Linked DNA regions of Homo sapiens: all the other regions are linked to region 6. The links are contacts of gene promoters, found by promoter capture Hi-C in human tissues and cell types (Jung and others, 2019). All regions are on one chromosome and are shown on one strand. Each heading gives the region's core, a stretch centred on a gene start or on the middle of the fragment in contact. The rest is flanking DNA. Distances are from core to core; before and after follow the strand shown.

The links. Contacts are between HindIII fragments. The study calls those that stand out against the background at their distance.
Region 1: a fragment that was not itself captured here is called in contact with the fragment with the promoter of CTNNBIP1 in region 6 in 4 of the 25 tissues and cell types used here (IMR-90 fibroblasts, dorsolateral prefrontal cortex, hippocampus and 1 more).
Region 2: a fragment that was not itself captured here is called in contact with the fragment with the promoter of CTNNBIP1 in region 6 in 3 of the 25 tissues and cell types used here (IMR-90 fibroblasts, dorsolateral prefrontal cortex and liver).
Region 3: a contact is called between a fragment that was not itself captured here and the fragment with the promoter of CTNNBIP1 in region 6, in 2 of the 25 tissues and cell types used here (dorsolateral prefrontal cortex and hippocampus).
Region 4: a contact is called between a fragment that was not itself captured here and the fragment with the promoter of CTNNBIP1 in region 6, in 1 of the 25 tissues and cell types used here (dorsolateral prefrontal cortex).
Region 5: a contact is called between a fragment that was not itself captured here and the fragment with the promoter of CTNNBIP1 in region 6, in 2 of the 25 tissues and cell types used here (heart right ventricle and hippocampus).
Region 7: the fragment with the promoter of PGD here is called in contact with the fragment with the promoter of CTNNBIP1 in region 6 in 4 of the 25 tissues and cell types used here (IMR-90 fibroblasts, aorta, dorsolateral prefrontal cortex and 1 more).

What each region holds. Positions count from the first base shown.
Region 1 is chr1:10,328,743-10,332,308 of GRCh38, reverse strand. The region is part of intron 27 of KIF1B (kinesin family member 1B); the gene reads right to left. Among named protein-coding and RNA genes, the nearest start is that of PGD, 69 kb to the left of the region's middle. The HindIII fragment of the contact is 6,880 bases long and covers 1-3,566 here.
Region 2 is chr1:10,253,115-10,256,865 of GRCh38, reverse strand. KIF1B (kinesin family member 1B) reads right to left here. Exons shown (of 49, transcript NM_001365951.3): 3 at 543-619. Among named protein-coding and RNA genes, the nearest start is that of KIF1B, 44 kb to the right of the region's middle. The HindIII fragment of the contact is 6,215 bases long and covers 1-3,751 here.
Region 3 is chr1:10,293,911-10,297,977 of GRCh38, reverse strand. KIF1B (kinesin family member 1B) reads right to left here. Exons shown (of 49, transcript NM_001365951.3): 18 at 2,813-2,892; 19 at 2,212-2,318; 20 at 1,313-1,396; 21 at 901-1,081; 22 at 732-804. Among named protein-coding and RNA genes, the nearest start is that of KIF1B, 85 kb to the right of the region's middle. The HindIII fragment of the contact is 6,454 bases long and covers 1-4,067 here.
Region 4 is chr1:10,270,390-10,274,307 of GRCh38, reverse strand. It overlaps KIF1B (kinesin family member 1B), which reads right to left. Exons shown (of 49, transcript NM_001365951.3): 8 at 2,729-2,806; 9 at 2,002-2,067; 10 at 1,277-1,294. Among named protein-coding and RNA genes, the nearest start is that of KIF1B, 62 kb to the right of the region's middle. The HindIII fragment of the contact is 4,387 bases long and covers 1-3,764 here.
Region 5 is chr1:10,227,676-10,231,303 of GRCh38, reverse strand. All of the region lies in intron 1 of KIF1B (kinesin family member 1B), which reads right to left. Among named protein-coding and RNA genes, the nearest start is that of KIF1B, 19 kb to the right of the region's middle. The HindIII fragment of the contact is 4,198 bases long and covers 258-3,628 here.
Region 6 is chr1:9,908,747-9,912,431 of GRCh38, reverse strand. CTNNBIP1 (catenin beta interacting protein 1) reads left to right here and starts at 2,163. Exons shown (of 6, transcript NM_020248.3): 1 at 2,163-2,337. RefSeq lists enhancers at 222-894, 895-1,568 and silencers at 1,716-2,315, 2,326-2,385, 2,556-2,615. The HindIII fragment of the contact is 11,728 bases long and covers 1-3,685 here.
Region 7 is chr1:10,396,941-10,400,534 of GRCh38, reverse strand. It overlaps PGD (phosphogluconate dehydrogenase), which reads right to left and starts at 1,471. Exons shown (of 13, transcript NM_002631.4): 1 at 1,410-1,471; 2 at 831-906; 3 at 1-142. The coding sequence starts at 1,417. RefSeq lists silencers at 705-881, 974-1,293 and an enhancer at 1,774-2,083. The HindIII fragment of the contact is 25,181 bases long and covers 1-3,594 here.

The sequences.
Region 1 (3,566 bases), core at 11-2,510, 420 kb before region 6:
GGGTCACCTGAGGTCAGGAGTTCGAGACCAGCCTGGCCAACATGGTGAAACCCCATCTCTACTAAAAATACAAAATTTAGCCAGGCACGGTGGCAGGCACCTATAATCCCAGCTACTCGGGGGCGCCGAGGCAGGAGAATCGCTTGAACCCAGGAGGTGAAGGTTGCAGTGAGCCGAGATCGCACCATTGCACTCCAGCCTGGGGGACAAGAGCAAGACTTCGTCTCAAGAGAAAAAAAGAAAAAAGATAAATGTTAAGGGAGAAGATGACAGTTGATGCCTAAAAGGTTTGCGTTTGCTCCTAGAGTTCAAAACCTAATTCAGAAATGCATAAGTGAAAGCTAAATTATAGCTCTAACACTTTATATTTCAAGCAAACTAGCAAAGTCCTATCACATTTGTATTTTCTTCTTTATTGTGTAGCTACTACTTTTTTAAAAAAGCAATAAAAACTGGTGGTCACAAAGCTAGAGTGTTCATTCCAATTAGTGAAAGGGAAATAGAATCTAGTTCCTACTATGATTCCAGTCTTCCCATTTGGTATATGCTGATCTTCGAACATAAGACAAAAGACAAAGACAGACACTTGTATCAATAAATCAAACAAAACCAAGTGACATACATGTTTATCTGATGCTTTTCCTGCTCTGAAATCTATTTTAAAACAAAGAGAGGAGGAGGATAGACTGGGTATTTGGGATTTCAACTCAAAGTAATGAAAATTATGAAAACAGACATAATACATCACAGAAAAACAAATGTTAACATAACTAGAGCATAAATGAAATACAAATGAAACATATAACAAAAATAACTGCAAATGAACATTAAATCAGATGAAATAATGCCACTTCCCTTTCAGTCTGCTCCAAAGCAGGAGAGAGAGAAATGCTAAGAAACAGAGAGTTGAAGCTCTGGTGTAAAAAAACGTAAGAATGAAAAGTTCTAAAAAGTTCTAAACAAGACCCTCAAACAACAACTACTGCAACAGAATTTAAAAGACAAAGAATTTGGCGTAAGGTATCAAATGGATAATTTCACTTTCAAAGTCAACACATACACAGATCACCCTCCTCTATTATGGGCACCCCAGCTAGACTTGCCCATTTCAAGGCCTGGGCCATTAAAGAGCCATCGCACATGTCCCCTGCCTGGAGTCCTCTCTGCACTCGATGCCTACACCTCATGCCTTTGATGTCTTTTTTTTTTTTTTTGAGGTGGGGTTTCACCATGTTGGCCAGGCTGGTCTCAAACTCCTGATCTCAGGTGATTCACCCACCTCAGCCTCCCAAAGTGCTGGGATTACAGGCGTGAGCTACCACACCCAGCCTCACGCCTTTGATTTCACATCTTCAGGTCTTATTTCAAACACCACTTTCTCATAACAGGTCCCCCAACGTTATGTGATCTCCGACAACACACACAACTATTTCATCACTGCTATAATTTACATTTATTTGTGCAATTATTTAATTTATGTCTGTGTCATCCATCAGACTATAAGTCTATGAGGGCAGGAACCATGTCTGGTTTTGCTCACCACTGTCTGCAGAGGGCTGGGCCACTCTATAAATATTTGGTAAGTGAACATCTATGTGCATAAGGGAACAGGAAAATGATTTGCCTCTTATCTTTAAGTAGAAGTGGAAGCTTTTCTAGAAAAATGGGTTATAACAGAAGCAGAAAAGCAAAGCCATCCAACTTATACTAGGTTGATTTTTCAGAGCCACCTCATAATGGATATTAACTATATAGAACACATTTAGATTCCTAACTATATCTATCTTAAAAATAGCTATTCAAAAACAGGAGCCACCTTTTTTTTTTTTAAAGAAAGCTTATATTAAGCACACATTACATTAAAGTACTGTTTGCACACACAGTAAAGATGAGATTGCCTTTCTGCCTATGGCAATGGCTAGTCCAAGTGTGGGAGCATTGAAGGCCATTATTATAGATTTCCCTTTTTAGATAATTCTGTAATTCTATGGCAGGGACATCAGCTCCATGACTACACAATCACACATTCACTAGATAGCACCTTGTTATGTTACCAGAATATAGCCCTTAGCTCCAAATCAATGCTATATAAACATTCTATTCTGAAGCTTTTTAAACAGAATTTTCATAATTACTCTGCATTTTTGAGAATCCTTATACTTTGACCTAGCAGACTGAAGGAGAACAGGGATGAGAGAGGGGAATATGGAAAGGATACGTTAGCAGAAAGTTCAATGAAGTTACTTCAAAAAGTGGAACAAACTGGTCAACATAAAGATAAGAAAAATTAGCAAAATTATGGTGCTACTTATAGAAAGAATGTCAGTTAAGGTACTTAGAGAGATCACAGAATCATCATCTTTAACCCCCTTTTAACCCAGAAGACTAGCTTAAATATTTTACATTTCATCCCAAATTATGATGGATGGTTCATAACATCCCAGCATGCCATAAGAGAATAGCTAAAGGGACAAGCTCTTTTTCACTTGCAATATAAAGTTTTAGCAGAGGCAGTCATGGCTAAAAAACAAACTTACTAATGGAATTTCACAAGAAACTAATTTTTTTTTCCCCCTAGACAGAGTCTTTGCTCTGTTGCCCAGGCTGAAGTGCAGTGGCGCGATCTCGGCTCACTGCAACCTCCCCCTCCCGGGTTCAAGCAATTCTCCTGCCTCAGCCTCCTGAGTAGCTGGGATTACAGGCACAAACCACCATGCCTGGCTAATATTTGTATTCTTAGTAGAGACGAGGTTTCACCATGTTGGCCAGGCTGGTTTCGAACTCTTGACCTCATGATCTGCCCACCTCGGCCTCCCAAAGTGCTGGGATTACGGGAGTGAGCCACCGCACCCAGCCAGAAACTAAAAATTTTACAAGTGATTTATATTGGCAATTATATGCCAATAGGAGAAATCCAATCTTGTGAATCACAAAAACAGGAAAGTAGTTACTTTCCTTACACATACAATGACCACTACACAACTGGGTGATGTTGCATTATTGTAAATTTTGTTTGTAGAAGAGAAATGTAGTCAAGGGCAAAAATGGAAAGCTATCCTTCACTTTACTGATTGCTATTATATTATTTCACTTCCTCCCCCAGTCCTTTCTTGCAAGGTTAGAACTTGGGAACCTAAACAAATGGAAAAATCAATTCCTGAGCCACAGCTCCATAAGTATTTTATGTGAAAATCAAAATAGAGTTGATTGCTTTATACCTATACTTACATCTGACATGATTAAAAGAAAGAAAACTATAAAACTAGAGAGAAAACAATACATGTATCCTCAGTTAATTTCCACATTAAGTGGGATTGTCTTGAGTTTCCACACAACTTCCTCAAAATACAAATGCTTCTTAGTAGAAGTCTTAACCAGGATATTCATTTTTGCTAGTGTAGATGACAGAATATGAAAGTTGAAAAAGATCTTTATGGCTCTTTATTTCTACCTGTTATTCACTTTACACTTGAGAGCCCAAAGGCTTCACTTTAAGTTGCTTGTCATAGTGACAGAGATGGCCTAGGACCCAAGGCTTCTCCTGACAATTAGGTCAGGCTTCTCCT
Region 2 (3,751 bases), core at 1,168-3,667, 340 kb before region 6:
GTGCCACGCGCCTGTAATCCCAGCTACTCGGGAGGCTGAGGCGGGAGAATCGCTTGAACCTCGGAGGCGGAGGTTGCAGTGAGCCAAGATGGCACCACTGTACTCCAGCCTGGGCGACAGAGTGAGACTCCGTCTCAGAAGAAAAATAATAATAATAATAATTATTATTATTATTTGGCATTTCCTAAGATCAATGGGCAATAATGTTGGTAATGAGGATCCTAAGATACTGATAAATAAATCCTCAAGAAATGTCTAAATCAGTATAAATTTAGTGTACATTCAGTATAAATTTGGTGTAAACTAAATATGTTCTGTATGTATATATGTGTATATATTTATGTATATGTGTACATAAACTTTCCATCAACCCAAATACTTTATGAATGAAAATACTATATCACTGTATCAAAGAATGAACTCATGCTACACAACAGTTAAGAAGCAAAACTTGGATCTGCTCAGCTAAGAGAAAAGACAAATCGGCAAGGAAAGAGGAAAGGAGGCAGGAGCTGGCAGTGCTGTGGCATGAGGGTACTCACTGAGGTATGAGACCAGTAGGAATAGTCGAAGCTGAAGGACTTTGGAGCTTCCTTTGGATTCTTTGGGTTAATAATACCTAGAAGATAAAAATGTTTCATTTTATAAGTCACTCAATTACAAGTTCTTTAGTTAAACATGTTATTCTGTGTGTTCAAAACATCCCAATCAGTAAATTCATACCACTAAATCTGAATAGGGCAATCAAAAATTAATAGGCTGGGCTCAGTGGCTCATGCCTGTAATTTCAGCATTTTGAGAGTCCGAGCTGGGTGGATCACTAGAGGTCAGGAGTTCAAGACCACCCTGGGCAACATGGTGAAACCCTGTCTCTACAACAAATACCAAAAAAAAAAAAAACAACAACAACTAGCTGGGCATGGTGGCACATGCCTGCAGTCCCAGCTACTTAGGAAGCTGAGGTCGGAGGATGGCTTGAGCCTGGAGGTTTGAGGATGTAGTTAGCTGTTATCGAGCCACTGCACCCCAGCCTATTTTGAGACCCGATCTCAAAAATGAATGAATGAATGAAAACAATCATAGTTTTAAGAGGTAATTTATACATGGAACATGAAAAACCAGACCAACAGCATTAACTGCGTGTTACCAGTATTCAGAACAGACCCTGGTATAAAGTAGATGCTCAGTAAATATTCTGTGACAATGTTTATCCTCCTTAGGTAAGTTACCAGCCAAAATTTGGAAATGAACGACATTTCTATTTCTTTTCTTTTTGAAGACAGAGTCTTGCTCTATTCCCCAAGCTGGAGTGCAGTGGTGTGATCTCGGCTCACTGCAACCACCTCATCCCGGGTTCAAGAAATTCTCCCGCCTCAGCCTCCTGAGTAGCTGGGATTACTGGCATCCACCACTACAACTGGCTAATTTTTTTATTTTTAGTAGAGACAGGGTTTCACCATGTTGGCCAGGCTGGTCTCGAACTCCTGACCTCAGGTGATCTGCGCATCTCCGCCTCCCTAACTGCTGGGATTACAGGCGTGAGCCACTGCACCTGGCCCACATTACTATTTCAAGGCACCCGTTAAGCCCTGAAATATTGGAACACATCAGAAATGGAGCTGGGCGCGGTGGCTCCCACTTGTAATCCCAGCACTTTGGGAGGCCAAGGCAGGTGTATCACTTGAGGTCAGGAATTCGAGACTAGCCTGGCGAACATGGTGAAACCCCATCTCTACCAAAAACACAAAAATTAGCCAGAAATAGTGGTGTGTGCCTATAATCCCAGCTACTGGGGAGGTTGAGGCAGGAGAATCACTTGAACCCGGGAGGCAGAGGTTGCACTGAGCTGATATTAATGCACTGCACTCCAGCCTGGGTGACAGAGTAAGACTTCATCTCAAGAAAAAAAAGAGAAATGAAAATTAGAAAGTTATTGAATGAATCCAACCACTATTTGAAAGCAGCTTTTTTTTTTTTTTTTTTTTTTTTGAGACAGAGTCTCCCTCTGTCGCCCTAGCTGAAGGGGAGTGGCACGATCTCGGCTCACTGCAAGCTCCACCTCCCAGGTTCACGCCATTCTCCTGCCTCAGCCTCCTGAGTAGCTAGGACTACAGGCGCCCGCCACCACGCCCAGCTAATTTTTTTGTATTTTTAGTAGAGACGGGGTTTCACCGTGTTAGCCAGGATGGTCTTGATCTCCTGACCTTGTGATCCACCCGCCTCGGCCTCCCAAAGTGCTGGGATTACAAGCGTGAGCCACCGCGCCTGGCCATGAAAGCTCTTTTTAAAGATCTTACTATGTACTTCAGAAAAGCATTTGGTAATGAAGCATTCATTACAAATACAGTGTTATTTCTGAAATCTAAGGTTGACAAGTATGTAAATGATTAGTGTGTGTGTATTTATGTAATGTAGTATATAGTGGAATCACAGACTAAGTCATTTTGGAGTGTAATTAACTGCATGTTACCAGTATTCAGAAAAGACCCTGGTATAAAGTAGATGCTCAGTAAATACTCTGTGATAATGTTTATCCATCCTAGGTAAGTTAGCAGCCAAAATTTGGAAATGAACCACATTACAGCAAAATTACTTTTTTGACTGAAATGCATGAAGTCTCACCACCCACATTAAAAGTGATTTATCATGTCATTAATCCAGTCACACTATATTTCAGGGACTGACTATGAATGCTTTAAAGCTTAATCTTTCTCCCTCACTCATACACACAAAGCTTTAGCTCCTCATATTTGAAATGAAACAGAATCTTTATGGCATGTGGTCATGAAATCTCCTCAAAGACTGGATATCTCAACCAATCTACTCCTTTGAGATGTGGCAAGGCCACATCCCAGGCTATCAGTGAGATCAGGATTAAAAAATAAATCTGTCTCGCACAGCTGTTGCTCAGTACACAAATAGCAACAGTTGCTACGGTGCTTAGTTCTCTCTCTTGCTGGATTCCACTGGGTACAGCCACGCATTTATGTTCCAACCTCAAATGCTGACAGAGTATTAATAAAGCTCACACTGTACATAATCATGTGACAAGGAGACATGGTTCTAGAAGGAACATCTCTCCACATGCAAATGGTAATCCAAGCAAAGAAGTATACTTCTAACCAAAGAGGAATTAAATGCAAGATTTAAAAAACAGCCAACATTCACAGAACACTTACTCTGAGCCATAAGTACTTTCTGTCTACGAACCTTTTTTTTTCCTGAGACAGGATCTAACTCTGAGGCCCAGACTGGAGTACAGTGGTACAACCACAATTCACTACAGACTCAACCTCCTGGGCTCCAGTGATCCTCCCACCTCAGCCTCTGGAGTAGATGGGACCACAGGTTCATGCCACTACACCCGGCTAATTATTTTTCTTTTTTGTAGAGATGGGAGTCTCACTATGTTGCCCAGGCTGGTCTCAAACTCCTGGGCTCAAGCCATCCTCATGCCTCAGCTTCCCAAAGTGCTGGGATTACAGGTGTGAGCCACCACACCAGACCTACTAACCTATTTGATGCTCCCAAGCACTCAATGAGCCAGATGTTTCATTACCCCCATTTTACAGATAGATAAACCATCACAGAGAGGTTAAATAAGTTATTCATGGCTCCAGAGCTAGCTAGTGGCAGATTCAGGATGCAATTTTGGAGGGTTTGGCTCCAGAGTTCACACTCTTAGCCCAGACACCATCATTTAAATGCTTATTCCCTATATGCAGCATTGTCAAGGCTAAAGGCAGGAAGG
Region 3 (4,067 bases), core at 1,030-3,529, 390 kb before region 6:
CAATTACCATTATAAAACGCTGAAGCCATTAGTATTGTATCAATAGCTGGGACCTTAAACAGACTTTCCAGCTGCTCACTCAAATCCTCCTTCCCTCAAAGGAAGCAAGCCTTCTGTCCTGTCCGGGCTGGGTATGCAGCCTTTGCTCCCACCGCTACCACACATGCCACTGAGAACCTGATTGAGAATTCAGACTCCATGCAGGGGATAAGGAAAGGAGTAACACATGCAACTGTGCAGCAACACTTTTAGACACAGTTTAACTTAAAAAAAAAAAGTCTGCCCAGCGTAAGAACAATCCCAAAGTCAGCCCAAGAGCAGAGAATTAGTACTATCAAGTGATCAGAAACAAAACCAAGGCAAACTCTCACCAAATTCAATATTCAGAGTAATTATCATTTAAAGAACCACCACTGAAGCAAATTCCAAAACCACTATCAAGAGGCAAAGGCTACCAGAAAAGCTCTATTTCCTTAAAAAGTATTTGGTTGTAACAGAAGTTAAGATTTGGCTTTAAGACATAAAAAGCCCAAAAGAGTACCTCTGTGGACTATTTTTTCAGGCTAAGGCTACCGGGAGATTTAAGTTCATTCTCCATTAAGGAAATTAAAGAATAGTGCTTGGTATCATTGAGACAGAAGCAATTTGGGTGAGTACTGCTCTGTGGAACAGGGAAAGTATGGGAACAAGCTGCCCTTTTCCCAACAGTTTAGCAGATTCAGGACTCCTACCAGTCTCTGCTGCTCCAAAAGAAGATCTGCTTCTTCCTTCTCCTTTTTGTATAAGATCTCCATTTCCTGTAGCCTAGAAGTAAAAAAAAAAAAAAAAATTCAAGAATGCTATTAGTATTACATGTTTAAAAGAAGAAACAGTCATATGGGCTGCGTAACTGTGCATTACCTTTTCTCCATCTCTTGTTTCATATCAATTCCTTGTTTTTCCAGAAGCTCCCTCTGGGCAAATGTCCAGTCCACAGGCTCAGAGGGGGTCTCAGCAGAAGGAGTCTTCTCTCGCTCAGCTCGTGCTTGTTCCGGGTGGTTAAAGCGGAAAACATGGTTTTTACCCATGATGATACGGTTTCCTAGCACAAAACAGAAAAATAGGGTTAAGAAATAATTTTTTTAATATATAGTATCTATTTAACAACCTCACCCCTCCCTAATGTGAAAAGACAGCTTTCAGAGCTGTTGTTTTTACAAGAACAAAAATCCTAATGCTGACTATTACTTCAGCCTTTAAACAGCCAAAAATTAGAGTTGTCACAGAAGCCATGTGCACATTGCTGAAGATGGCAAACCTCTCCCAGTCTCACCTGAGCGCAGCTGAACAGGCTGGGACACCCTCTTGCCATTTACGTAGGTTTCTGAGCGCTCACAGGGCTCTAAGGTCACGATAACTAAGAGGAACAAACACAAACTAATGTTATCATTACAAACTATTGGAATCAAATAATGGAAAGCAGTTGCTTATCAGGATTTGCAGTAAGTAGAATAAATCCCTGCAATCAATCAAGTGGCTGAAGTTGTCTATACAGTAGTTCATTTTGGGGTACCAGAACTAGCCCCAATAGAAGAGGCTATCTGTGGCCATGGCTAACACAAGAACATTTAACTCTATTTGATAAACCTAAGAAGATGATAGGAAATATTAGTTTCAGGGATCTCTGACGGTTCAGTCAATAAAACTCAGAACCATCAGAAATTGTAAGGATGAGATATAGGTAATAACCAGAAACTAAAGACTGAGAAGCTAATATTTTGATAAGGGAATGAGTGACTTATATAACAGAAAAAAACCATTAAATTGTTGTTTTGTTAATAACCCAGGCAAAAATCAAGACTGACTTTTTCTTCCCTTTTAGATAAAAATAAATTCTGCTGGGTTGACTTAATGTCCTTCAAATCTCCTATTACCCAGGATATCTGCTATTTTCTTACTTTTCTATTAAATAATTAACATTCCAGACCAAGCCTAATTGCCTATGTCCTTCTCAGTTCTTGGCAGTAAAAAAGGGCTTCTTTTGTCCAAGCTATTTTCATGTAAAGCAGCCTTGTCCATCTCTGCATTCATAAGCAGCCCAGGTCTCTCCATTTTTCAGAATTAGATTGTATAAGAAAGTACTACTGATAGACAGAGAATACAAAGTCTTAAGGATTTCTCATAATATAAAATGAAAATGTTGTTGCTGAAGCTCCAGCCAGGAATGCTCACCTTCCCCGCTGTTGCTTCTCTCACTCCGGAAGATACAATGCTCTTCTTTAATGTGAGCCCCGCTCAGCACTATGTCCTGGCGCCGCTCAGCATCTGCTTGGCCAACCCTGAACACAAGAGAAAGTGTTTCCCAGGGAAATTCAGACACAGAAAGCACTACAAACAATGAACCTCTTTATTCCAAAGAATATCCTTTGGTACGTACAAAAAAGGTATTGCCTTGTTGCATCAGAAGCTTTCAACTATGAATTCTATCCTCACATATGATCAACCTCTCTACATCAGAATAAGAAACAAGGAGCACTGATATACCAATGTAACTCATACAGTATTATAAAGACATGAGTCAAATAAAATCCCTAAGGAATGTATATTTGTTAAAGGAAAAAAAAATTATTTAGGGTCTTCAGAGAAAAACTACATAGTAACTGGCTCCAGTGGCAAAAACACATTATTTGGAAAGAGAGCATAGTTTGTAACTATTTCAGACAAAAAATACAGCAAATCATTACGTTAATTTTTTCAACCCCTTCCCTTTAGTTATTCAATTATCTAAGAGGGGGAAAACACACGAAGTGACCAAAACAGGAAATAAATATACCTTGTAATTCCATCTTTGATGTAATAAAGTAGGCACTCAGACATTAGTGGGTCTTCATTGAGGTTAACAAGATGTGGGGTCTGAAAAAGATTACAGATGATCAATTTGGAGCAGGGCACCATGAGAGAGCTGTGGTAACAACAGGGGCCTACAAGAGGCCAGGCTTCTCCAACTCTCCACAGAGCCTAGAGAGGGATTTCTTTTTATCCCTAGTTGCGGTTCCATAATAAAGAGAAAACACTCTCTTCAGGCCTCACCAAACGGAACCAAGTGCATTCTATTTTATTTTAATTAATTAATTAATTTGAGACAGAGTCTCGCTCTGTCTAGAGTACAGCGGCATGATTTTGACTCACTGCAACCTCTGCCTTCCAGGTTCAAGTGATTCTCCTGCCTCAGCCTCTCAAGTAGCTGGGATTACAGGTGTTCGCCACCACGCCTGGCTAATTTTTCTATTTTTAGTGGAGGCAGGGTTTCACCATGTTGGCCAGGCTGGTCTCGAACTACTGACCTCAACTGACCCACCCTCCTTGGCCTCCCAAAGTGTTGGGACTATAGGAGTGAGCCACTGTGCCTGGCATTCCATTTTAAAACATGAGTTCTGGGATAAAAAAACAAGACCTAATTTTTGATAAGGTCAAAGCACAAGGAAAAAATGACAGGCCAATTCTCTGAACGGAATAATTATAATTTTTGTAAATGCCTGGGTAAAAATCTCAAGAAATATTTACTTTTATTAAAATGTCCCCATACCCCCCCACCACTTCCCACTATAATTTTTATCAGTTCTTCTGATCCCAGTTATTAATTTGTCTTTACCTTAAAAGATTTTAATTTATTAGTCTTTACCTTAAAGAAAAAAGTAAAATTACTGATATTCGATAAGATAAACATCTTCTAACAATCCTCTTCATCTAACTCTAATATTTCTAAAATCTTTTTAAAAAACCAACCTTCTTTAGTGAAAATAACCCACTGGAATCCAAAAATAAGTCACATGGTCTTGAGGCCAAAATCTACTCAAGAGAGTGCCAGCAAATGTGGAAGAATGAAAGAAGAGTCAGATGAGGGGGTAGGAAAAGGAACTATAAAAGATGGTTAAAGAGAAATCTGAAAAACCTCCACATCTTCTCAACTAGCATCCCCCTTTGTAGTTGAAGAACTTGACTGGTTTGAGAAAGTCAAAGCCCTTTGTGAGTAGCATTCTTTAAAGCACATCATAATTTGAAAAATGGAATCTCAGAAACAGGTCCTA
Region 4 (3,918 bases), core at 322-2,821, 360 kb before region 6:
AGGTAACAGCTACTCAAATATATGCTGGCTGACTACTGCGTTGTGACACTTTAAGAAGATATTAAGGGGAGGCCGGGCACAGTGGCTCATGCCTGTAATCCCAGTACTTTGGGAGGCCGAGGTGGGTGGATCACTTGAGGTCAGGAGTTCGAGACCAGCCTGGCCAACGTGATGAAACCCCATCTCTACTAAAAATACAAAAAATTAGCCGGGGGTGGTGGCGGGCACCTGTAATCTCAGCTACTTGGGAGGCTGAGGCAGGACAATCGCTTGAACCCAGAAGGTGGAGGTTGCACTGAGCCGAGATCGTGCCACTGTACCCCAGCCTGGGCAGCAGTGAGAGACCTGGTCTCCAAAAAAAAAAAAAAAAAAAGAAGCTACTAAGGAGAAAGCCAGGGTCTCACTGCTAAACACCACTCCAGCAAATCAGCAGTTTTATAATTCAGTCCTGGTATAATCCAAGGTTAAACTAAGGATGATCCTACTATTGCACAAGCACTTTTTCTATTCAGAAAAAGGGTACTACATGGCTGGCCTCTTAGTGGCTAGTCTTGTGGTGTTTGTTGGGTTTTTTTTTTTTTTTTTTTTTTTTTTTTTTGAGGAGGAGGAGGAAAGGGAGTAGGCAAGAAACATTTTAATTCCATCTCTTATTAAATATGTCCACATCATCATCATCTCATTCCACTCTACCCACAGACACACAATCCACCAATCAGAAAGTCATTTCCAATAGCAGGTTCAATTTTAGATTGCACAGACCTCAAGGGAGAATTAAGCCTTTCAGTCATTCAGATTAGTGGAACAAACTTTCACTCCACTATGTAATCCTTGAGGCCTAAAACTTCAGTTTAAAACCCGTGAATAGTTGGGACACTATGGGCACGCGCTACCACACCCAGCTAATTTTTGTATTTTTAGTAGAGACAGAGTTTCACCATGTTGGCCAGACTGGTCTCAAACTTCTGACCTCAAATGATCCGCCCGCCTTGGCCTCCCAAAGTGCTGGGATTACAGGCATGAGCCACCATGCTCGGCCTTGTTCCTTTATTCTTAATTCCTTCTCCAAAGCATATCATGTTCTAGAAATTAATTTTGGTGTGAAACCTCATGATTTGTGGTCACCCTAAATTTACAGCCACTCTAAATTCCAGAGCCAGAGAACAAATGATGAAAAGATTTTTGAAGGTTCCATTCCTACTTATGCCTCCATACATCCTAGTGAGGATTTAAAACATAAAAGTCAATTCTAGTTTATCTCTACCAATCCCCACTGTACCTTGCTAGTGCAGTTATCCTACAGGTGAAAGCATTTAAAGGAGAAAATAAGAACACAGGATAAGCCTCCAAGTAGAAAATTAGATTTTGTTTAAATTTCATGTCATAGATTATGATTTCTCCAAGGCAAGCAAGAAAGCATTTCATTCTTCTTAGCAATTAAAAAGAGGTTTTAAACTAAACTAGAACACACAATGACTAATTTAAATAATGTAGACAACAAAGCCCCTAATTTAAAAAAAATAGTTTTAGTTTTACTGTTCTACCATAAAGGAGTAGGAAAGAACAAAACTATTGGGGGAAAAAAAAAAAAAAAACTACTGGCCCTCAAATCAACAGCATTCACCAAAGCCAAACTGCTCAAAATACTCCAAAAGATACTGCATCTTACTCAGAAAAGATTATACAGGAAAAGAAGAGACAATAAATATACTTGGTTTTTGTGAGAAACATAAAATAAGGCTCAAAAAAATGAGTCAAACCTTCAGTGTTTGCTCTAGTTTTTACAGATCTATATTTACTTTTGTTCTCCTTAGTATCTTTTACTTTCAGTACAAAGTCAAACTGTGTTATACCTAGTATCTTATCTGAAAAGCTCTAAAAGGAGAAAGGCAAGATTACAGAAAAGGGCCACAAAAAGACAGCCTTCATAAACAATAATAAAATATCATCAAGTATATTTGCTGAACAGACACAACTCCCCTTATAATGAAGTATAAAACTTACCACCTCGGCCAAGGCTGAAATGACTTTGCCCAAAGTTGTAAGAGACTTATTAATATTTGCTCCTTCCTAAAATAAATACCAAATATGAAAGAATGATGAAGAATTTCTACTACTGCTATATCATACAGAACATAAAATATGATTTGCCATATGCTAGCATATTTCTTTATTACAAGTTCTAAAAACAACCTTTAGTCCTCCATCTGTCCTCTTTTCCACTTGATAATAACATGCTGAGACCACATGCCTAACTCACAGTCCTGAAGTATCTTCGAGATATTTGTGCTCCAAAAGCTTACAGATGTGTGCAGCCTTCTTCCCTCAACTTATCGACATGAAATTTCTGTTCTCACATCTGAATCTTGTATATCCTATTCCCACTGCCATCTCTTAATTCCATCTAGCCAAATTCTACCTGTTCCTTAAAATGCAATTCAACTCTCACCCTGACTATGATGTGCTCCCTAACTATTTAGTTAGATAACTTATCCTTCCATTGAAGTTACAGATCAGGAGTCAGCAAAATTTTTCCGTAGAAGGACAGACACAAATTATTTTAGGTTTTCTGGGCCATACGGTCTCTGTCACAACACTGCCATTGTAGTGCAAAAGCAGCCATAGACAATACATAAACAAATGTATGTAGCTGTGTTTCAATAAAATTTTATTTACAAAAACAGGTAGTGGCCATTTATTGATCAGGCCATTTATTTGCTAAAATAAATACCTTTAATCGAGTCCCTTTGGCACCAGTTGAATCAGCTCGTTCACTTCCTGCTAGATCCACCAAGCTGATTTTACTGACCTGATAAAGAACAATAACATGGGGGCAATTCAAAAATAAGCAAGATAGAAGCAGGAAATATTTAGAGGCAGAATGCTTTTTAAAAGATTAAGGTATGGAAAAAACTAAAAGTATTAGAGCTTTTAAATATGGCACAAAAAGATCAAGACAACATCTATCAGTTAGTTTAAACAGTACACACGGCAGGTGCAATGGCACATGCCTGTAGTCCCAGCTACTCAGGAAGCTCCTTTGAGCCCAGGAGTTCAAAGCTGTCTGCTGCACTCCAGCCTGGCAACATATAACACCCTTGTGTCTCTAAAAAAAAATTTTTTTTAATTAAAAAAAAAAAGAGCATGCACAAAATTCATAGCAATTATCACGGTTCAAAAAAAAGTAACTTTAGGATAAACATGACATAATTTACTAGAGTATGTTATAAAAATATATAAAACTCATCAACTCATTAAATGGCTTACTAAAAGTGAAGCTTTAAGCAACTGGAACAATCACATATTTCTGGTGGGAATGTAAAATGGTACAATCACTTTGGAAAACAATTTGACATTTATTTTCTTTCCTTTTTTTTTTTTTTTTGAGACAGAGTCTCGCTCTGTCACCCAGGCTGGAATGCAATGGTGCAATCTTGGCTCACTGCAACCTCCACCTCCTGGGTTCAAACGATTCTCCCACCTCAGCCTCCCGAGTAGCTGAGCTTACAGGCGCCCACCACCACGCCCAGCTAATTTTTTTTGTATTTTTAGTAGAGACGGGGTTTCACCATGTTGACCAGGCTGGTCTCAAACTCCTGACCTTGTGATCCACCCGCCTCAGCCTCCCATGGTGCTGGGAGTACAGGCGTGAGCCACCGTGCCCAGCCTTGACATTTCTTAAGGAGCTACAATAAGACTCAATCATCCTACTCCTAAGTATTTACCAACAGAACAAAAACAAATGTCCACACAAAGACTTGTACACAAATGTTCACATCAGCTTCGTTTGTAATAATCAAAAACTGGCAACAGTTTAAAAGTCCATCAACAGTTGAATTAATAAACTGTGGTGTATCTGTATAACGCAATACTCATCAACAATGAAAAGGAACTATTGATAAACACAACAACATAGATGAA
Region 5 (3,628 bases), core at 1,107-3,606, 320 kb before region 6:
ATAGCAAAGGACAAAGACACTTTCTAGTCAATTCGTTTAACTATACAGTGATTTCCTTTAACTTCTGGGTTTTCTTTTGTTTTGTGTTTTTTTAAGACGGAGTTTTGCTCTTGTCGCCCAGGCTGGAGTGCAATGGCACGACCTCGGCTCACTGCAACCTCTGCCTCCCGGATTCAACAATTCTCCTGCCTCAGCCTCCTGAGTACCTGGGATTACTGGCGTACGCCACCACGCCCAGCTAATTTTTGTATTTTTAGTAGAGACGGGGTTTCACCATGTCAACCAGGCTGGTCTCGAACTCCTCACCTCAGATTCACCTGCCTCGGTCTCCCAAAGTGCTGGGATTATAAGCGTGAGTCACTGCGCCTGGCCAATTTCCTTTAACTTCAAAGATCCCTCAGATATGCCACTGACTCATGGCAGAGTCAAATCATTACATTTCACTACTGAATGAAGTAATAGGAAAAATGTGAACATTTTTTAGAGGAATAGTTTCCCTCCCAACAGAACAAAGCCAACACTACTGTGTGAAAAGAATCCAAGTAAGTAACTTCTGTAAGAAACAACCGGCCGCGTGCGGTGGCTCACGCCTGTAATCCCAGCACTTTGGGAGGCCGAGATGGGTGGATCACTTGAGGTCAGGAGATCAAGACCAGCCTAGCCAACACGGTGAAACCCCGTCTCTATTAAAAATACAAAAATTAACCAGGTGTGGTGGCACACACCTGTAATCCCAGCTATTCAGGAGGCTGAGGCAGGAGAATCACTTGAACCCAGGAGGTGGAGGTTGCAGTGAGCTGAGATCGCACCACTGCACTCCAGCCTGGGTCACAGAGTGAGACTCCGTCTCAAAAAAAAAAAGAAAGAAAAAAAAAACAACCAATTTTTCTAGTTAGGAAAAACTCTACACTCTATCCAATATAAAATCTTTTTCAAGAATAACCAAACAAAGGAAAAATCTAAAAAAGAAAAGTAATTACGAATCCAATTATCAGGAACCACAACAGAACTTAAATCTGACCAATATTTTTTCCAGATAATTAGGAATGCTAACCTCCAACTACACAACACCATAACCGATGTGTTCCCGAGAACAGGATAAATAAATAACATAAAAACCAAAGTCACTCTCTACCTCAATGCCCTACCCGTCCAGGCTACTGTACAGTGGCACAATCATAGCTCACTGTAACCTTGAACTCCTGGGCTCAAGTGATCCTCCCACCTCAGCCTCCAAAACAGCTGCGACTACAGGCACACACCAACACACCCAACTAATATTTTATTTTATTTGTAGAGACAAAGTCTTGTTATGTTGCCCAGTCTGTTCTCAAACTCCTGACTCAGCCTCCCAAAGTGCTGGGATTATAGGTGTGAGCCACCACGTCTGGCCCCTAATTTTCTTTTCTTTTTTTTTTTTTTTTTTTTTTTTTTTTGAGACGGAGTCTCACTCCATCACCCAGGAGGCTGGATGGAGTGCAGTGGCGCGATCTCGGCTCACTGCAAACTCCGCCTCCCAGGTTCACGCCATTCTCCTGCCTCAGCCTCCTGAGTAGCTGGGGCTACAGGCGCCTGCCACCACGCCTGGCTAATTTTTTGTATTTTTTTTTTAGTAGAGATGGGGTTTCACCATGTTAGCCAGGATGGTCTCGATCTCCTGACCTCGTGATCCACCCGCCTCAGCCTCCCAAAGTGCTGGGATTACAGGCATGAGCCACCGCACCCGGCTGTCTGGCCCCTAATTTTCTTAATAGCATCATCGCTATTTGAAATTCTTGTTTTCTGGAGCATGTCTATTGTCCATCTCTCACACTGTCTGTCTCTCACTCTACCACCAGAATGCTCAGAGATCTCCTGTCTCGTTTGCTAGCACTTACAACAGTACCTGACATAAGAGCTCAGTAAATGTTGATGAAATGAATGACATACATTTCCCAGTTGTGAGAATTATCTGTTTAAGTCCTTTGCCTAGTTTACTGATTTTTTTGTTTTTTAAATGTTTACATATTTTTATATTAATCTTTTTCTATTTGCTACAATGTTTTTTCTAGTCTGTTTGCCATTTTATTTTAAACTGATGGTTCTTTATTTAAATATCAAATATTTTTATGATCACATGTATCAAATGAAAACTTAGCATTTATTAACCTTCCCAATCAATGGAGCATGACTTATATTCACTAGTTGAGTACTATGCCAAGAGAATGAATGACACATTCAGAAAAAGCAAGACATAAAACACATTGCAACCTCCCCGAGTTCCCTCTGAAATACAGCCATCATCTTAACTCTCCTCATGTCCAAAAAACCATTATCTTCTCCCCTAAACTAGCAATCTCTGCCAATCTTCCCTATCAACAGTATTCTCCCAGGCCCCGATACCATAAATGTTGGAGTCATCTTTGTCACTACTCTTTGAAACCTTGTATTATTACCAACATTATTCACAAAATACCATATGGAAACTTCTAAGATATAAAGTTGCTTTATTCTATCCCTCCCTTCCTCTCATTCCCACTGATATTACCTCAATCCATGTCCTTACTACCACATACCTAGGATACTTGCAATAGCTGGACTGTTCTTTGGGCTTTTAGTCTTTGATCCAATAGTCCTTAAACAGAGTTGTATGAAACAGAATGACACGGGGGCCTTTTGAAAAACAAAGGAGTCTAGACTCTCCCAGTCTAGATAGGCCCCAGATATGGATTTGTTGATTTGGGTTAATTTTCAAAGATTATGTTACAAATACCCAGCTAAAAAGCACTGCTTTAAACCACTGCTTAACCCTGTTGCAAGATCAACCCCTCTAAAGCATGACTTTCAACGTCACTTCCAATAGCAAGAACGTTCTCTTGTTCCTAACATGTAAAAAATACTGCAAATTGATTTTTAAAAGTCAAATATATAAATTCATAAGCTTACGATACTTTTTTTTTTAAAAACTTCATTAATAGATCAATGGTTACAGAGGGAAGAAAATGCATTATCCTGAAAACAGCAAATAAAACAGAATTAAGCATACATCTAGTCTGTATAGCCTGTATAAAATATTCCAGGATAACCAAATAGTCAATGAAAGTAAGTTCTTTTTTTTCTCTTTTCTTTTTTTTTGAGATGGAGTCTCACTCTGTCACCCAGGTCAGGCTGGAGTGCAGTGGCATGATCTTGGCTCACTGCAACCTCCTTTTTCGGGATTCAAGCAATTCTCCTGCCTCAGCCTCCCGAGTAGCTGGGATTACAGAAGCCCACCAGCACGCCCGGGTAATTTTTGTATTATTAGTAGAGACAGGGTTTCACCATGTAGGCCAGGCTGGTCTCAAACTCCTGACCTCATATGATCCGCCCACCTCAGTCTCCCAAAGTGCTAGGATTACAGGTGTGAGCCACAGCACCCGGCTGAGGGTAAGTTCTTTACAGAAAAATTCTAGCTAATAAATGCAGAAGAAATGAAAGAATTATAGAATGTTACCTTTTCCCAACTCTTTTTTTTTTGAGATGAAGTTTCGCTCTTGTCACCCAGGCTGAAGTGCAGTGGCACGATCTTGGCTCACTGCAGCCTCAACCTCATGGGTTCAAGCGATTCTCCTACCTCAGCCTACCGAGTAGCTGGGATTACAGGTGCCCA
Region 6 (3,685 bases), core at 914-3,413:
CCTCGTGAAAATGAAGAGAAGTCGTTGAATAGCGCAGGTCTGACAAGATTTTAAGAAGTTTCCTTTAGTTGCTGTGTGGGCAGTGAATGGGGGCGTAAGGAGAGCCTAAAGGAGAGACTGCTTGAAGGGTTATTGCAGGAGTCAAGGTGATAGCTGGTGGCAGGTTAAACTGGGAAAGAGGGGTAGAGATGGTAGGAGGTGGAGAGATTAAGGACACCATTTAGAATTGGAAACAACATGGACTGGAAATGAAGAATAAAGGAAAGAGTGGTGTCAACGGTACAATTTAAGTGTCTGGTGTAAGCAACTGGGTAGAGAGTGGTGCCAGTTACTGAAGGTGGGGACACTGTAGGAGAAACCCACTTGGGGACCAATTTTTTTTTTTTTTTTTTTTTCAGACAGAGTTTCGCTCTTGTTGCCCAGGCTGGAGTGCAATGGCGCAATCTCGGCTCACTGCACCCTCGCCTCCCGGGTTCAAGCGATTTTCCTGCCTCAGTCTCCTGAGTAGCTGGGATTACAGGCATGCGCCACCACGCCCGGCTAATTTTTGTATTTTTAGTAGAGACGGGGTTTCTTCATGTTGGTCAGGCTGGTCTCCAACTCCCGACCTCAGGTGATCTGTCTGCCTTGGCCTCCCAAAGTGCTGAGATTACAGGCATGAGCCACTGCGCCCGGCCGGGGACCTATTAAGTATGAAAAAGTGTGAGCAGGCCGGGTGCGGTGTCTCAGGCCTGTAATCCTAGCATTTTGGGAGGCCGAGGCGGGCAGACCACTTGGGGTCAGAAGTTGGAGACCAGCCTGGCCAACATAGAGAAAACCCGTCTCTACTAAAAATACAAAAATTAGCCGGGGCGCATGCCGGTAATCCCATCTACTCAGGAGGCTGAGGCAGGAGAATCGCTTGAACCCGGGAAGCGGAGGTTGCGGTGAGCCAAGATCGCGCCACTGCACCTGAGCCTGGGCGACAGAGCGAGACTCCCTCTCAAAAACAAAAAAACCCCCCAAATGAGTAAAGAGTAATGTGGATATTATATTATAAACGAACAAACAAAAAAGGACTTCGTATTCTTTTTGCATAGGGAAGGGGAAGAAATGTGGAGTGGAAGAGGATGGTACAGAAAAGGTGTAAAAAGAAAGGCTGTGGGAGGAGTAGGGTAGGAGGGCTTCTGAACTGGGGTTAGTGTCACACTGTGTAACTGATAATTTAAACTGCTGAAAATGAGACCACACTTAAAGATACAGGTCCCTTTAAAAGGAAGGCGGATGTTAAAAGCAATTTGCATTTTACCTAAAATGGGCTGCTTCTCCCTGTACCCTCTCCAAATACAGCCAGACTTTCTGTAGAAACATTTTAATCATGGGCACCCTTCCCCCGAAAAATCCACTCACTACCAGTACACACGACCTTCTGAGTTTAATGGACCTACGGAGGCCCATCCCTGGGCTCTCTGGGCTAGGTTAATCCCAGGTTAGGCCCCAAGCTCAGAGGTAGCAACGTTCCCAGCTCAACGACGCAGGAAGACCACGCCTCTAAATGTTCTGCAACCTCGTCCATTTCAGAATTTTCCGGGGTTCTGGGTAAACTGGCCTCACCAAGGATTCTGCCCCGTCTTGTTGCTCCCGTTTTTAAACACAGACCGGTGTGTGGGAGAGGCCATTATTTTTCCGGAACACTGTGCTCCTGGAGCAGATAGGGACACGCAGAGTGGCTTTACCGCAGCGCCAGCTTCAGCCTTACCCGGCTCCTCCTCCAGGCCACCGCCTCCTCCTCGCGCCCAACCCGCCTTCCCTGCTCACCCCCGGCCCGCTCCTCCCCTTTGCTCTCAGCGCGGACTCGGCCACTCACTACCGGCGCCGTGTTCCACCCGCCCACCGCATGGCCCCGTCCCTATGTCGCTGGTCTCGCCCCCTTCCAGGAGGGCCCAATGAGCGTTCACATGCGCCACAAGGCCCCGCCCCGCACCGCGCAGCCCCGCCCACAGGCTGAGTTAACCAATTCGCGGCCCCGGGCCCCGCCCCGCCCGCAGGCCCCGCCCCGGCGCCCGGCCCCACGCGCCCGCCTCCCTCCGGGGCGTTGCCGCCGCCGCGCCTCAGCAGCCCGCGCGGAGCCAGATGCCGCCCCCTCCGCCGGTCCCTCCCCCGGCGGCCTGGCGCCTCCCTCCCTCCCCACCGCGGTGACTCTCGGAGCGGGAGGCGGAGGCTGAGGCGGCCGCTCCTGCTGCTGCTACTGCCGCCGCCGCAGCGGCTGCTCGGGCTGAGCACGCCCCGGAACAGGCCGCCGCGCGCTGCGCGCCGGACCCGCTGCCCCTGCCGGCCCGGCCGGGTCGGGCGGCCCAGGTAAGCGCCGAGGCCGGGCCGCGCCTGCACCGCCCGGGCCCGCGCCGCGCCGCGCCGGGGCTTGGGGGAGCGGCCAGCCCTTTGTCTGCCGGGGAGGGGCCGCGGAGAGCGCCCCCGACCCCGCTCGGACCCCTGACTGCCCCAGCGGCGCGGCGCCCTGGTCTGGGCCTGGCCGCCTCTCGCCGCAGACCACCTCCCGCCTCCCTGACTCTTCGCCCGGGGGTCGCCTCCACAGGTGTCCGCGCCGCCCACCTTGTTGCTCACCTCACCGCGTCCGGGTGCCTGTCATCGCCCGTCCGCCCTCCCGACCTCTGGGCCCCTGCCTCTTCCCTCACCTGCGCCCACTCTGAGACTCTTACTCTCCATATTTCCCCAAACTAAACGCTGGGCCGCCCTTCCTCCCTCTGTAGTTTGATTGAACTGTCGTCTCCCGATTCCACCCCTCCCCGGTGAGCCTTCCTGGAAGGTACCTGGTGGGGGCACATATCTCACCTGGATGGCGGGCGTGTATGCACGAACCTGCAAAATTAACCACCTGGAGCCCCAAACTGCACCTCTCACCTCCTTTTCATCACCCCACCCCAACCACCTTCCTTTTTTTGGAACCTGGTAACCGAGACACTCAGGTCTGGACACCCAGCCTCTGCTAGGCCCTCCATCCCTCCCTCTGCCTTGTGAGCTGAACTTGTCTGAGCAGTGCCTGTTGTCAGGTTAGCCCCTGGGAAGGCGGCGGGGGCCGTGTTGGCCGCAAATCAAGAGTTTTATGAATAATGAGACGTGTGGCTTGCACCACCTCCTGTCTGAGGATCTCAGTATGCTCCAGCTGTGAATTATTTTGTCTCCTGTCACTCACAGAACTGAGAGGAACATGTCTGGCCAACTGCTGGGTAAATTGAGGTACAGGGTGTGTGGGTAAGGGACCTGGAGGCAAGTCATGGTTTGTCTTGAAGTTCTGTTCGCAGGAGCCTTGGCTCTTAGCTCCCTGCTACAACCACTGGGCTCCAGTTCCTGGAGTGTGTCCCCAAGTGATAACTGATCTCTTGTGCCATTAAAATGTCCAGAGATACCAGCAGCTTCCTCAGATTTAAAGTAGGACTTTGGATCATAAATAAAGGTGCGGGCTGTTAAATGCCAATGTGTCATTCACGGTTTGCTGGGGGAGTTCGTGGTCCTCCCTTGTAAATACAAATCACCTCTATGGGATGGAGATTCATTCATTCAGTAGTGAGCATTTACTATGTGCCAGGCACCGTTCCAAGTACTGGGGCTTTAGTGGTGAAGACAGACACGGTTTCTGCCCTCCTCAGAGATGACATTTTAAAGAGGAGGAAAGTCAGACAATAAGTGA
Region 7 (3,594 bases), core at 222-2,721, 490 kb before region 6:
TCACCAGGAGGATGATCCGCCGGGGCTTCTTCAGCTTGGAGACCATCTCTTTCAGGGACTGGGCACCCACCACTTTGGTTCCCTTTGCCTCATTGGCCAAGAAATCATCAACTTTGGAGACAGTCCTATTAAAAGCACAGACCTAGAAGGACAAAAGTCCTGAGTAGGAGATCCAGGACACACAAGACTTTCAGACTGTGGCCAAAGTAACAATGACCTTTCCATTCAACCCAAGTTCTGGGGAGGTCAGACCTGCCTTTGCCTTTTCTTCCCCCAGCTGTGGGAGGCTCACTGTAAAGTTATGTCACCTCAGTAGGATGAAAACGGCGGACAACCGAGGCGAAGGCCAACTACCCCCGGTGTGTCAGGTAGAATCCACACCCAACGTGTTAGGACTCAAAATCAAATCCAGGAACTGGCCGGTTCAACAGGCTCTATCTGTTGTTATTGATCATCCTGGCGTCTAAGCCACTTTAACATTTAGAAGAAACATTTTCACTCTCCCCAGATCTCATCAGGCAATCAAGTTAGAGCTCTACACAGCCAGCAAGGGTTCTCCTCCCGCACCCTTCTTCTCTACTTAAGACACTAATTCGTTCATTCGGGCTGTGAACCTCACGGACCCACAGGCACACTCCGCAGGACTAAGTTCGGGATCGGCCCGCCCACGCCTACAGGGTGCTTCTCCTTTCCATACAAAAATGCCACGAGCAGCAACAGAGCACATTAGCAAAGCACGGCCAGGAGACCCGTAAGCTCCCAAACCTATCGCCGGCCTCGGCTAAAGCGCCCGGGAACCAGAGAGAAGACAACGCGCCCACGCCGCTTACCACAAAGCCGTGGTCATTCATGTTCAGAATTAAGTTCTGGCCCATGACGGCCAATCCGATCAGCGCGATGTCAGCTCTAGAGAGGCAGAAACAGAACAAAGGAAAGAGTCAGCACCGCTCGACGCGCTGCAACCCAGGGGTCCGGTCCTTCCACATTTGGCCGTGACTGGGAGTCTGCACTTTCCTCCGCGCCTCCCGCGGGCCCCCAGAAGCCGGGCGCGCACGCTGCAGAGCCTCGGCCGGGCAGGCGGCCCCCAGCCCCGCCCTCGCGCCCGGCTCCCGCTGGCACGCGTCCCGCAGGTGTCCCTGCAGACTCGGCGAGGCCTGGCCGCGCCTCCTCCCTGGCCCTCGAAGGGACCCGCCCCGCCCCATGCCTGCGCGGCCGAGAGGGCAGGGGGCCGGGCCCGCAGGGAAGGAGCTCTGGGCCCGAGACGCCGTAGGGCCAGGGTCACAGAGCCCCAAGTGAGCTCAGGCGACCCCCAGGGTGGGAGGCGTCGGAGAGAACGAGGGAGATCTCGACCCCCAAAGAGTTCCCCGCCCGCTGAGGCCGAGCCGGGCTGCCCCTGGCGAGTCACTCACTGGGCCATGGCGGCGGACAGAGCAGAACCGAAGAGCGGCGACGCGCGGAGGACGAGTGAGGGAAAGACCCGCAGCGGCTCCCTCCAGAAACTGCGGCCGCTCACGCCCGGCTTTTCGGCGCCGGCCAATCGAATGGAAGGGGGTGGAGCCATGAAGCCACACCATTGGCTCTCCCCGACGCCTGTTAGACCATCCGAGGCAAACGTGCCCGCCCACCCCCGGGGGCCGGATCAGTGGAGCGCCGAGCACCTAGATGACATTGCCCCGGCGAGGCTCCGGGCTCCCCGCCCACGCGCAGAGCTTTCCGCTCGTCCCAGCTGCACCTCGGTCCTGCAGGCCGTCCGCCTGGCGCAGCTGTAGCCATAGCAACTCACGCAGGACCGCGCTTTACAGTTTACCAGGCACTCGGACGCCTTTGGCGCGAGCGCCCGTCGCTCCTTCCTCAGGTCACTGCGGTGCACCGTGCGGGTCCGCGTCGTGTCCTCCGCTCCGGAGCAGGGACCGGGCGTGCTCGTTCAGTCCTGTGCGCACTCGGAATGGGGCCGGGGAAGGCTGAGCCTCAGGGCGACCCTGATGTGGAGCCGTGCGACCGCTCACTGCGGTTGAAGAGACCCAGGCGCAGACAGCGCAGGCGGGGTATGTATTGGTTGGAGTATGATGGGGTCAGGACTTGAGTCTTTTACCCAGGCCCGGAGTTAACGGTATTGAACCCCTTCTCATTTTGTAGAGGCTATGTGACCCGCGAGATGGACCAGGTTAAATGCAGAGGCAGATACAAAAAACCAGCCATCTTAAGCCAGACATTTGCAAAGTAGCCAAGCAGCGCTTCTTATCTTACTGAGTCCCTTCTTGCTAGGAGGAAATTGTTATTCAGAAGTTTGAGTTTTAGATTTTTTTTGTTTTTTTTGAGACGGAGTCTCGCACTGTCGCCCGGGCTGGAATGCAGTGGTGTGATCTCAGCTCACTGCACCTTCCGCCTCCCGGGTTCAAGCAATTTTCCTGCCTCAGCCTCCCAAGTAGCTGGGATTACAGGCGCCCGCCACCACGCCCAGCTAATTTTTGTATTTTTAGTAGAGATGGGGTTTCACCATCTTGGCCAGGCTGGTCTCAAACTCCTGACCTCGTGATCCGCCCGCCTTGGCCTCCCAAAGTGCTGAGATTACCGGCGTGAGCCACCGTGCCCGGCCTTTTTTTGATGTCATTGTTGAGATGGAGTCTGGCTGTGTCTCCAGGCTGGAGGGCAGTGGCGCGATCTGGGCTCACTGCAACCTCCACCTCCCAGGTTCAAGCGATTCTCCTGCCTCAGCCTCCCAAGTAGCTGGGACTACAGGTGTGTGCCACCATGCCCAGCTAATGTTTTTATTTTTAGTAGAGACAGGGTTTCACCATGTTGGCCAGGCTGGTCTCGAACTCCTAACCTCAAGTGATCCACCCACCTCAGCCTCCCAAAGTTCTGGGATTAGAGGTGTGAGCCACTGTGCCCGGCCGGTTTTTAATTTTTATAAAGACCAGGTCTTTGCTCTGTTGCCCAGGCTGGAGTGCAGTGGCATGACCATAGCTTACTGCAGCCTTGAACTCCTGAGGTCGAGCAATCTTCTAGCCTCAACTTCCTGAGTAGCTAGGACTACAGGCATGCAACACCATGCCCGGCTAAGACATCCTACTTTAAAATATGTCAAACTTCACAGCACAGTTCTTTTTTTAAAATACAGATTTAATGAGATAATTTACATGTCATACAATTCAAACATTGTAAGTACACATTTGGATGACCTTTAATTTATACTGTTGTGTAGCCATCACCATAATCCACTTATAGAAAACTTCCATCACCCCAAAACGTTCCCTTGGGCCTATTTGTAGTCAGTCTCTGCTCTCACCCCCAGCCAACCTCTGATCTACTTTGCATGGTTTTTGCCTTTTCCAGAAATTTCATAGAAATGGAATAATAGCATATAATTTTTTTGGTCTGGCTTCTTTCACTTAGCATCACGTTTCTGAGGCTCATCTGTGTTGTAGGTATGAGTGGTTTGTTCCTTTTCATTGCTGAGTGGTATTCCATTAATGCAATTGTGTCATCATTTGCTTATCCATTTATCTGTTGATAGACATTTGGATTGTTTCTAGTTTGGGAAATAAATAATTCTGTTTTGAACTCATGTACAAATTGTTGTTTTCATTTCTT